Linked DNA regions of Homo sapiens: all the other regions are linked to region 3. Evidence: promoter capture Hi-C in 16 types of primary human blood cells and fetal thymus (Javierre and others, 2016). All regions are on one chromosome and are shown on one strand. The core of a region is centred on a gene start or on the middle of the fragment in contact, and the rest is flanking DNA. Distances in the headings are between cores, read along the strand shown. Region 1 has its middle 35 kb from the start of RRAGC. Region 2 overlaps RRAGC (Ras related GTP binding C). Region 3 holds the start of INPP5B (inositol polyphosphate-5-phosphatase B). Region 4 overlaps MYCBP (MYC binding protein).

What was found. The method cuts DNA at HindIII sites, captures the fragments that hold promoters and counts their contacts. A CHiCAGO score of 5 or more calls a contact.
Region 1: a contact is called between a fragment that was not itself captured here and the fragment with the promoter of INPP5B in region 3, in 1 of 17 cell types (neutrophils). The highest score is 6.9, in neutrophils.
Region 2: a fragment that was not itself captured here is called in contact with the fragment with the promoter of INPP5B in region 3 in 3 of 17 cell types (endothelial precursors, activated CD4 T cells and total B cells); the score reaches 6.6 in endothelial precursors.
Region 4: a fragment that was not itself captured here is called in contact with the fragment with the promoter of INPP5B in region 3 in 3 of 17 cell types (total B cells, M0 macrophages and naive B cells); the score reaches 6.4 in total B cells.

What each region holds. Positions count from the first base shown.
Region 1 is chr1:38,823,899-38,826,598 of GRCh38, reverse strand. No RefSeq gene overlaps it. Among named protein-coding and RNA genes, the nearest start is that of RRAGC, 35 kb to the left of the region's middle. The HindIII fragment of the contact is 6,603 bases long and covers 1-2,700 here.
Region 2 is chr1:38,842,141-38,844,840 of GRCh38, reverse strand. All of the region lies in intron 6 of RRAGC (Ras related GTP binding C), which reads left to right. Among named protein-coding and RNA genes, the nearest start is that of RRAGC, 16 kb to the left of the region's middle. The HindIII fragment of the contact is 4,730 bases long and covers 1-2,700 here.
Region 3 is chr1:37,945,745-37,948,444 of GRCh38, reverse strand. INPP5B (inositol polyphosphate-5-phosphatase B) reads left to right here and starts at 1,392. Exons shown (of 24, transcript NM_005540.3): 1 at 1,392-1,455; 2 at 2,111-2,193; 3 at 2,595-2,689. The coding sequence starts at 2,137. It also overlaps a transcript of LOC105378651 not described here. RefSeq lists enhancers at 1,224-1,463, 1,041-1,570. The HindIII fragment of the contact is 11,910 bases long and covers 215-2,700 here.
Region 4 is chr1:38,861,118-38,863,817 of GRCh38, reverse strand. It overlaps MYCBP (MYC binding protein), which reads left to right. Exons shown (of 5, transcript NM_012333.5): 5 at 1-1,325. The region is part of intron 1 of RRAGC-DT (RRAGC divergent transcript); the gene reads right to left. It overlaps GJA9-MYCBP (GJA9-MYCBP readthrough), which reads left to right. Exons shown (of 3, transcript NR_037637.1): 3 at 1-1,328. Among named protein-coding and RNA genes, the nearest start is that of RRAGC-DT, 2.6 kb to the right of the region's middle. The HindIII fragment of the contact is 316 bases long and covers 1,119-1,434 here.

The sequences.
Region 1 (2,700 bases), core at 91-2,590, 880 kb before region 3:
CAATATTTCTACAGTTAAGAGTTTAGTTAAAAACCCTGCTGTGCAATGAAATAATGCATCTGCTATTGGCGTAGAGCGACTGGGATGTTAATTCCCTGGTTTTGTGTCAGTTAAGGGCAAATTAGCCTTCCAGCACCAGTCATGACTCATTATGTCATTATGTAGAAGGCACTTACTGTACCTCCACTACTATGCAATTTAGATCCAATAAAAATTGTGACAGCGTTTTTATCCACTTCATTAAGCTACTAATTTCTTGTAAAAAATGTACATTAATCTTTTTATAGCTTCATGCAGAGTGGCATATTTTTAGACTCTAACATTGATTAGGTCCTGGTTAAGAATAATTTTCACAGTACTTTTAAGAAATGTAAATAAAGTTACAATAATTTAATTTTTCAACATAGTTATGACAGTATTGATCTTAAAATGAACATGTTGGCTGAATTAAATGTGTAGCCCAAATGAAATACAGACTGAATATTTAAACATGCAACAAATTACAAAGCACGGCTTAACAATACCCTGCAAACAGAATGAAGAAAGGGAGCATGAACCTTCATGGAAAATATCAATTGCTCATATTTTAAAAGAGGTAAATGGGGATTTTTTTGACATCTGACTTTCCCTACCCAAATGTTTAAAAAATACAGCAAAAAATAGTTTTCCCCTTTTGATTTTTCATTGCTTGTGAAGTATTAATGACTCTTCCGCCTGAATGACTTAGGAAAAAGTAGAAAAGAAGAAAGTTCCCTCTGCCAGCTAATTGTGATATTAGTGGGTCGGAGTCAGAGAAGACAGTGCCCAGGGTTTTCAGAGGGCACCGTGGGCGGTTGAGGGCAGAGTGTTGGCACCTGTGTACTCAGTGACAGAAGCTGCCCCCTTCACTCTAACCCTTCATCAACCCAGAGCTTTTGGAACAGGGCTGAGGAAGCCATGAGTCACGTCCTCATTGGCCGTAAAGGTGAGCTCTAGATGCTGGCTGGCATTTCACGCAATTACTCAGGCTTCCCATTAGATCTTGACCTGCCTCGCTGGACCTTGTCTCCTTGCTCTGGACTCTTTGAGTTGTGCTCTGACTTTGATCCCCTCTGGCAGTTGGTGTCTTTTGCTTTCCCAGGTGAACGAACCCTAGCTCTGTCTTGGCCTCCAAACCTACCCGGTTCTAGCCCCTCCACAAGTATCTACCGCATCAGCCCCAACGGGCATGCAGGGAGCTAGAGACCATGAATGATTAGGCTTTATCATAGGAGACACACAGAGTGTGAACAGAACCATGTTGGAGTCAAAGACTTAGATTCTTCCAGACAATATCTATGTCCCCTCTCCAAGCCTGTCTCTATCTCCCATTAGAAGGCTTTGTGCTGGATGATTGAAAAAAGTTCTAGGATACGAAGACCCCCTTCTCACTGCAGGAATTCCTCCCTGGAACAACCCAACAGGCTGTGCGTGGATCCTCATTTCCTTGTATTTTTTGAATGTATGGAGCCCTGTATCTTTCCAGAAGGGATTAAAGTGGAGGTAGAGAAGAGTTTCCTGCCTTATAGCATCTTCACTTCCACAGAGTCAGTGCAAGTCAGAGCTGTTCAAAGTGCTGTGAGCAGCCAGCTATGTCTCAGTACAAAAGATTCTGCAGCTGATGTTAAGAGTAATAATGATCTCCTTATCAATGTCCAGGTCCCTGACTCTAGAAGTGTGGTTGTCCACCAGCAGGATTATATGGGACCAAAGGCCTATTCTTAGCCCATAGCCCAAGCAGCATCTCTCCAGTCCCTGGGTGCTCCCTAAAGAGCCCATAGCAGCTGGAAACACCCTCTCTGCTTTGTAGCTGTCCCAGAGCGTGGGCTCAAATACAGCCTGCTTCCCTGGCATTTCTCAAAAGCCATTCCTTTTTGCAGTTGCTGCTGCTGCTTCCCAGATGTTAACTGCTGTGCCATCCTGTTCCTGATAGTAAAGCTCATTTTGATTGCCTTTTCCATTTGTACAGTTTCATTTACTCATTAGGAAGAGCAGTCTCAGCCTTTACCTCTGAGAGCGTCACCACCACTCTGTGAGGCAGGCAGATGACCCAGAGAGGCAAAGTGACAAACTCAAGGTCACACAACTGCTCTGCAGCGAGCAGTAGAGCCAGAAGTTAACATCCCGTGTTCAGTATATCAGAGATTCCAAAATGCCTTTGGTCATGGAACAGAATCATGGTTAAGAGCTTGGGCACTGGAGTTAAGGTAGATTTGGACTCAAACTCCAGCTCTTCCACTTACTAAATTCCTTAGCTCGAGTGCATTACCCAGTTTCTCTGACCCTCTGCTTCATCTTATCATCTTTACCAATGGGGAAAAATGCTTTTTAACCTCGCATGTTTATGCTGAGGAATTTTCTTTTTTTTTTTTTTTTGTTTTTTTTGAGATGGAGTCTTGCTCTGTAGCCCAGGCTGGAGTGCAGTGGCACCATCTCGGCTCATTGTGACCTCCGCCTCCCAGGTCCCAGTTCAAGCAATTCTCCTGTCTTAGCCTCCTGAGTAGCTGGGATTACAGGCACACGCCACCATGCCCAGCTAATTTTTTTTTTTTTTTTTTTTTTTTTAGTAGAGATGGGGTTTCACCATGTTGGCCAGGCTGGTCTTGAACTCCTGACCTCGTGATCCACCTGCCTCGGCCTCCCAAAGTGCTGGGATTACAGGCGTGAGCCACCGCACCCGGC
Region 2 (2,700 bases), core at 6-2,505, 900 kb before region 3:
TCTTTTGAGAAGTGGCTGTTCATATCCTTTGCCCACTTTTTAATGGGGTTGTATTTTTCTTGTACATTTGTTTAAGTTCCTCGTAGATTCTGGATATTAGCCGTTTGTCAGATGGGTAGATTGTAAAAATATTCTCCCATTCTGTAGGTTGCCTGTTCACTCTGATGATAGAAACTAGACTTTTGGAAGTTACCAGGTTACCTCCTTCCTGCATTCAGTGGCCTTTTCTTACTCTGCAGGCTTTTCAATCTTCTAAGCATGTGATCTTGTCAGTCCCTCCTTTCTGAAAACTTTCTTCTCTCTTTGCTTCTCTGAAGCTGAATTCTTGGGATATTTTGTGTGTTTGTTTTCCCGACCACCTCTCCTGTTTCTTCTGTTTTTTTTTTTTTTTTCCTCAGTCCTGTTTGTCAGAGCCAAGTCTTTCTGCTTGCGTATTTTCTAGGTCAGCTCATCAAATACATGGCTTCAGTTAATCTTCTCTATGTGATTGAAAAATTCACATCTCCAGCTATGACTTGGGATCATGCTCTCGTCCCATGTTTGGAGCTATTAGTAAGACGTTCTCTCTTAAATATTGTGAATGTTACCTTCAACGTCATGTCAATCATTGGTTGATGAGTATTTCCCCTGTTTTGTGACTCTCGTGGCTGTCATACTTCTGTCACTAGTTACGCGAGTTTCTCCTGTCCAAGTGTAGATACCTTGTAGTTAGGTAATTGTGTGGTGTGATTGCTGAAGGGGCCCTTGCAGATTGGTTCACAGAGGAGATTTCGTGATCTCCTTTTTCTATTCTTCTATGTTGTTTATATTGAATTTTCACCAAATCTGATCATTTGTTTCTTGTAACTGTTACTTGGGTTTCCTTTCCATTTTCACTGTCAGTGATTCCACTCCAGGTTCTCATTGCTTCAGGCCAGTGGTGCTGCAGTAGTCTCTTACTTGATAATATTCATGTAGTTGACATATATGTGGAGGGTGTAGTATGTGTCATCTTTTATCCCAAAGGCAGATTAGTTTTCAGAAAATTTATTTTATATTATTTAACTACTCAAGGATCTACAGTAGCTCTGTTATTTACTGCAACAAGTCCTTCCTCTTCTACCTGAGTTTTTTTTTTTTTTTTGAGACAGTCTCGCTCTGTTGCCTAGGCTGGAGTGCAGTGGCGCAATCTCGGCTCACTGCAAGCTCCGCCTCCCGGGTTCACATCATTCTCCTGCCTCACCCTCCCGAGTAGCTGGGACTACACATGCCTGCCACCACGCCCGGCTACTTTTTTGTATTTTTAGTAGAGGCGGGGTTTCACTGCGTTAGCCAGGATGGTCTCAATCTCCTGACCTCGTGATCTGCCTGCCTCGGCCTCCCAAAGTGCTGGGATTGCAGGAGTGAGCCACTGCGCCCGGCCTGAATTTTTAATGGAATAGTTCAGATATACACAAATTTTTGGGTAAATCAAAACATGTATCTTCACCTTTCAGCTTAAGAACTAAAATGACAAATACAGTTAAAATCTTTTTTTTTTTTTAAGAGACAGAATCTTACTCCATTGCCCCAACATGATCATAATTCACTGTAGCCTCAAACTCGTGGGCTCAAGAGATCCTCCCACCTCAGCCTCCTGAGTAGCTGGGATTATAGGCTCATGCTACAGGATACTGGCTAATTTTAAAATATTTTGTAGAGATAGGATCTCTCTCTCTTGCCCAGACTGGTCTTGAACTCGTTGCCTCAAGCAGTCCTCTTCCTTCAGCCTTCCAAAGTGCCGGGATTATAGATGAGAGCCAACTGCCTGGCCAGCTGAAGTCTTCTGTGTGTTTTTCTCAATTGAAATCCCTTCCTTTGAGCTATGTGTATTTTATTTTTCTTATTTTTTCACTTCATGTCTATCCTTAAACAATAGAGTATTGTATAAATGATATAAAAATATAAGTAGTCTTCTGCAACTTGCTTGATTCTTTTCCTTCAGGTGGTTTTTGAGATTTATTCAGATTGATGACACGTAGTTCTAGTTCATTCCTTTTCGCTGCCATATAGTATTCTACAGGTTGACTATACCACATTTTATTTTCTTGTTGCTGGACATTTGGATTATTTTAAAAATTTCAAATCTGTAACAAATGCTCATGAACAAGTTTAAGTTTGCCTTTGCACGTGTGGAGAATTTCTCTAGGGTATGCCTTTAGGAGTGGAATTTATAGAGTACCTATATCTTTTGACTAATAAAGAGATTGCCAAACAGCTCTCCAAAGTGACTTTACTATTTTCATCCCTGGCTGGCACCGGTCTGTGGAAGTTCTTATCACTTCTTGTCCTTAATAATGCTTGGTATTGTTAGACTGTTTAATTATTGTCAATCTGGTAGGTGTGAAAGGGTATCTTATTTGATTCTCATTTTTACTTTTTAAATTACTGGTTAGAGCAAGTGTCTTTTCATGGCAAGTACCTTTTCATGGCTATTCAGGTTTCTTCTTTCACATTTTACCTGTTCCATATATATTTATCTTTTTTTGCACTGATTCTTAGCAGTTCCTTATTTTTCTCTATGTTAGTTTATTTGTTTATTTATTTTTTTGAGATAGAGTCTCGCTCTGTCACCCAGGCTGGAGTGCAGTGGTGCGATCTCGGCTCACTGCAAGCTCCGCCTCCCGGGTTCATGCCATTCTCCTGCCTCAGCCTCCCAAGTAGCTGGGACTACAGGCGCCC
Region 3 (2,700 bases), core at 143-2,642:
GAGCTCCATTTGTGCTGTGGATGTTTCCAGGAAAAGAAATGGATTGAGAAGAAGGCAACGACTGTTTCTGGAAGGGGTTTACATATGCAAAGTTGAACTGGTCATTAGGATGGCCACTTCACTTGGGGAAAGAGGAAGGGAAACTGTTCACAAGTCACAACAGTCACCCCCTCCCCAGCACTGAAGGCCCATTCCTTCAGTTTGGGCCAAAGCTTGAGAGAAGGTGTATTTATTAAAATAGTTCAGAAAGTAATTCACTAACTCCATAGATAACTGTGTGCCAGAAACTGCTGGTATGTTGATGAAAAGGCATAGTCCTGTCCAACGGGAGCTTACAGCTTAATTAAACAGCCAATAGGCCAAGTGAGAATGATCCTAGCATTCCTTATCTGAGCTGGGTGAGCAATCACAGCTCACTGCAGCCTTGAACTCCTGGGCTCAAGCAATCCTCCCACCTCAGCCTCCCAAGTAGCTGGGACTACAGGCATGCACCACCATACCCGGCTAAATTTAAAAAAATTTTTTTTTAGAGATGGGGTCTCAAACTCCTGGCCTCAAGCGATCCTCCCTCCTTGGCCTTCCAAAGTGCCGGGATTACAGACATGAGCCACTGTGCCCAGTCCCTGTGCTGGCTCTTTTTGTCCATCTTGGGTAACCTCCTTATCTTAGATGGGGAAATTGAGTCCCAAGGGAAGAAAGGTCTTGGCCAAGGTCACAAAGCCAGGCGGATCAGGGGAAGGACGTTGCCGGACAGGAACAGTGTCATACCCTTTATAAAGTGCGTTCACACCCAGTAGCCTCAAACAGCCCTGTGTGGCAGGAGGGCTGGGTGGGGCTAAGGGAGGAAATAGGGCAGTGTGTAGCGGTATAAATGGCCCAGGAGTTGCAGTCAGACTTTCAGTGGAGTCCCAGTGTTGCCACCTGCTAGCTGCAGGACTTAATGTCAAACTGCTTAACCTATCCAAGGCTCAGTTTCTCCACCTGGAAAATGGACATAATGGTTCTTCATAGTCTGGTTCTCCCTCCATTAAACCAGGAGAAGGTAGTTATTTTAGGGGAAGAGTTTCAGTAGAGGTCCGGGTTGTCTACCCTGGAGTGAGAAGAGCTGAGGATGGAACTAAGGAGAAAATAAAAATGCATTATATTCTTCCCCTAAGATAAAATGTGACCATCTTCCTTCTGGGTGGGAAGCTCTGGCCCCATGACCTAGAGGGCTGGGGATGGGAGTGAGGGCAATCATTAGAAAACCTTTCTGGTATAGGAAGCCCAGTGTACCCCAGGGCCTAAGGGGTTAACACGGATGGAGAGACTCCCCACCCCACGATTGACTCGGGCATGCTGGGACTTGCAGGCTGACTGACCACCATGTGGCGCAGGGGCTGTTGGGAAATGTAGTCACTGTCCCGGAACCTGGGGCAGCGGAGTCCCGTGCGCCCTGTGGTGACAGCTCAGGAGGTAGGTGACAATGTCAGGGAGCTGTGGGTGGGAGCAGAGCAGGAAAGCCAGGGCAGGGCTGGGCAGGAGGGAGTGGGCAAGCTGAGGGCTGGGACACCCCCCAACCCCCGGCCTGCAGCTGATGCAATGGGCCTGCTGGGGCGGGGGTGAAGGGCAAGCAGCAATGGGACACTTCCTGTCTCCAAGGAAAGAGGAATGGGACCCTCCTGAATGACAGTAAGGGGATGTTCCCTGAACCCCACATGGACACACCACTGACACCTCCCAGAGAGGCGCTAGCAGAACAAAAACTGTCCCCAAAAGAGAGGAAGAGCCATGTCCTAGGAGCAAAGGGACTAGGTCCCCTTCTCCAATCCACGTACCCCACTTCCAACAAGGATAGACCACACTCAAGAGCAACTGGATGCCCTCCCAGACAAAGGCAGTATAGCAAACTGTAGATCCCAGCGGGGCAAAGGGACTGGACCCCTATCCCTAAAAACTGAAAGGCCTATTCTAGGGAGGACAAAGAGGAGGAGGAGGAGGATCAGGCCTCCCCGGTACCATCTCCCTCTGCAAAGGCCCCTCCCTCCTGCCCCCAACCCCTCTGAGGCAGCTCCACCACCCCATGCGTAACTTGTTGACCAAAGCGGGGCTCCTATCTCCCCTCCCACAGGGTGTGTGCGCTCAGCAGGGGCCAGCATGGACCAGTCTGTGGCAATCCAGGAGACGCTGGCTGAGGGGGAATACTGCGTCATCATATCCTTCCTGTGCTAACTGCGGCCCTGAGCCTGCCCTGGCCTTGGGAAGAGGAATGGAAGGTGTCGAGGTGTCTATCCCCTCTCCTGCCCCTCTGAACCATCAGGGGAGAAGGAAATCAGTATTTACTAAGTACTTACTGAGTCCTGGACTCTCAGCCAAATGCTTTAAATACGCAGTTATCCTCCTAACTCCCTATGAAGTTGGGGATTATTATCCTCATTTCATAGATAAGGAAGGCTTAGAGAGCCTGTTTGTCTGTTAGTTCAGCACATGGTTTGAGTGCTCACCCAAGGCCACACAGTGAATCTGGGGGGGCAGGGGAACAGAGGGAAGGTGGGACAGCCTGGGTGGGGAGAGGCCTCGCCTCTGGGTTGTCTTCCCTTGACTCTGAGCCGCAGGCGGTGCAAGGTGTGCTGTGTGAGGGGGACAGCCGGCAGAGCCGCCTCCTGGGACTCGTGCGCTACCGCCTGGAGCACGGCGGCCAGGAACACGCGTGAGTGAGGG
Region 4 (2,700 bases), core at 27-2,526, 920 kb before region 3:
GGTATAATTATATAGTGCTTTTCTCCCTCAAAGTATTTTTCTAGCCTTGAATTCATTTTATCTTCATTATCCCTGTGAAGTAGGTGGGACAAGTATAAGGGGAAGAGGGGTGCTGAATTTTTAGGCCAAAGACTGATATTAATACAAATCACTCACTAACTGTAGAGCCTTGGGCATTATCAGTGAACTACTCTGAGATTTACTGTCTTCATCTGTTTAATGAGTAGAATGTCCGTGATGCCTACCTCACAGGGTTGTTGTGAGGGTCAAATGAGAATGTATGTGAAAGATTTGTAAATGGTAAAGCACTATATTCTTGTTTGTTAGTCCTTTTTCCTTTCTTTGGGTAGACCTACAGTCAGATGTTTTGTTTTATGGATCACTTATTTTCCTTACTGGTAGACTGTCGTTTTATAGACATATTCCTATTTCATATATTCTCTCCCTGTTGTTAGAGAACCTATCTTTGTTTTTGGTCAAAACACACATAGAAAACAAAATGATCCAATGAAAACTGGTTTAACTAGCAAAAGCCTTGGCACCTGTTGGAGACTATGACCAAGCCAATAAAAAGGGCATTTAAATCAGCCCTGTTAGTAGGAATGTGGCTATGGCTGGTGCCTCTTCTAGTCACAAGTTTGTTTTTGGAGGGGGTCCAGAAGATCATTCCCTTGCATAGATTTCTCTTTTACCAATTTGAGTGCCTCCTACATGGGCAGCAGTGGACTAAGTGCTGGGTGTGATAAAGAGGAATGACTTAATTATGAGACTGTATATAATCAAATACAGTGTGGGTTAGGACCTGTGGCAGACCATTATAATAAAGCATGGCCCCGTGAGGGTTTTGAAAGAGAGAGAGACTTGGCTTCCTTAGTTGGTATGATAGTTTCTTGGTAGATACAGGTTGAAAATTTTTTGTGGCAGCCAATCCTCATGGGCTTTTTACTCATTTGATTAGTATTAATATTTATGTCAGTAAGCCAGGTGACTGTGACTGTCTTTGGTACCATCCTTTTTGAACAGAAAGGCAACATGTGGGTTGGATAATCACACTTTTAGGTGAAACTGACTTGCTTAAACTGTAACAGTCAGTGCTATTTAAGAATTCAGGATAAGCTTAGCCTCTAGAGGTCCTCTTCAACATTTCTGTCAAGGATTTGGATGAATACAACAAGATGCTCCATGGAAGAGAAAATGGATAAATGGATCCCACCAGTTAAGCTCCTATTATGCTTCAGCTGCTTTGTCTATAAAATATCGACTTCACATCTTGCCTATCTCACAAGTTGGTTGTAAGAATCAAATTAAATATAATGGATGTAAAAGTGCCTTGCAAACTGTAAAGGATTACATACAGACCAGATGGTGGTAGTGCCAAATCTGTAAGTGACACAAATTGGAAAGTCTGGTTGGAAGACTATATTGAAACAAGCTTTAAAATGATTAACCACGTGGAATACCCAAACTGCTGGGCCTAAACCAAAAAGTTGAAGTATCAAGTCTTACATTTAGGTTAAAAAATGCAGTTATACACATTTAGGCACTAGGATTGCTGACAAAGTATTAGTTACAGTGATTATCAATGTGACCCACCCTATGGATGCTTAAAAAAAATTACATTCTGGAAAGCAGGAATAGAAATACTGTCTAGGTGTTAAATGGTCATTCTGAAAGTTGTACTGTTTAGTATTGCTTTGTAGGAGTCAGATGTTTGATGGATATTGACAAGCTGGAATGCATATAAAGAGTGACCAATAGAGGATTTGAATATATAAGGCTGGGCTCTCCGATTTGGTACACACTAGCTGCAAGTGGCAGTTAAAAATTTAAGTTCCTGGTGGGGTGCCGTGGCTCACACCTGTAATCTCAGCATTTTGGGAGGCCATGGAGGGTGGATCTTGAGGTCAAGAGATAGAAACCATCCTGGCCAACATGGTGGAACCCCGTCTGTACTAAAAATAAAAAAATTAGCCGGGTGTGGTGGTGGGCACCTGTAGTCCCAGCTACTCAGGAGGCTGAGGCAGGAGAATCGCTTGAACCCGGGAGGTAGAGGTTGCAGTGAGCTGAGATCGCGCCACTGCACTCCAGCCTGGCGACAGAGCGAGACTCCATCTCAAAAAAAAAAAAAAAAAAAAAAAAAAAAATTCCTCAGTTACACTAGCAACAATTCAAGTGCTTATTCCTCATAGGACTAGCGGCTACATGTTTGACAGTGCAGATAAAGAACATGTCTATCATGTATATCAGTTGTATTGAACAGCACGATAGGAATGGTTGAAACTGAGGATGTTCAGCAAGGAACAGAGAAGACTTAGTGGGTAATGAATACTGCAATCTGGTATTTGAAGGGCTGTCATGAAAAAGGTGAAGACTATTCCTATTTTATTCTATTATAGGCTTCAGGGAGTGTGGTTTGGCTTTAAGACTTTTTTTTTTTTTTGAGACGGAGTCTCGCTCTGTCGCCAAGGCTGGAGTGCGGTGGCGCGATCTCGGCTCACTGCAAGCTCCGCCTCCTGGGTTCAAGCCATTCTCCTGCCTCAGCCTCCCGAGTAGCTGGGACTACAGGCGCCCGCCACCACGCCCGGCTAATTTTTTGTATTTTTTTAAGTAGAGATGGGGTTTCACCATGTTAGCCAGGATGGTCTCGATCTCCTGACCTCATGATCCGCCCGCCTCTGCCTCCCAAAGTGCTGGGATTAC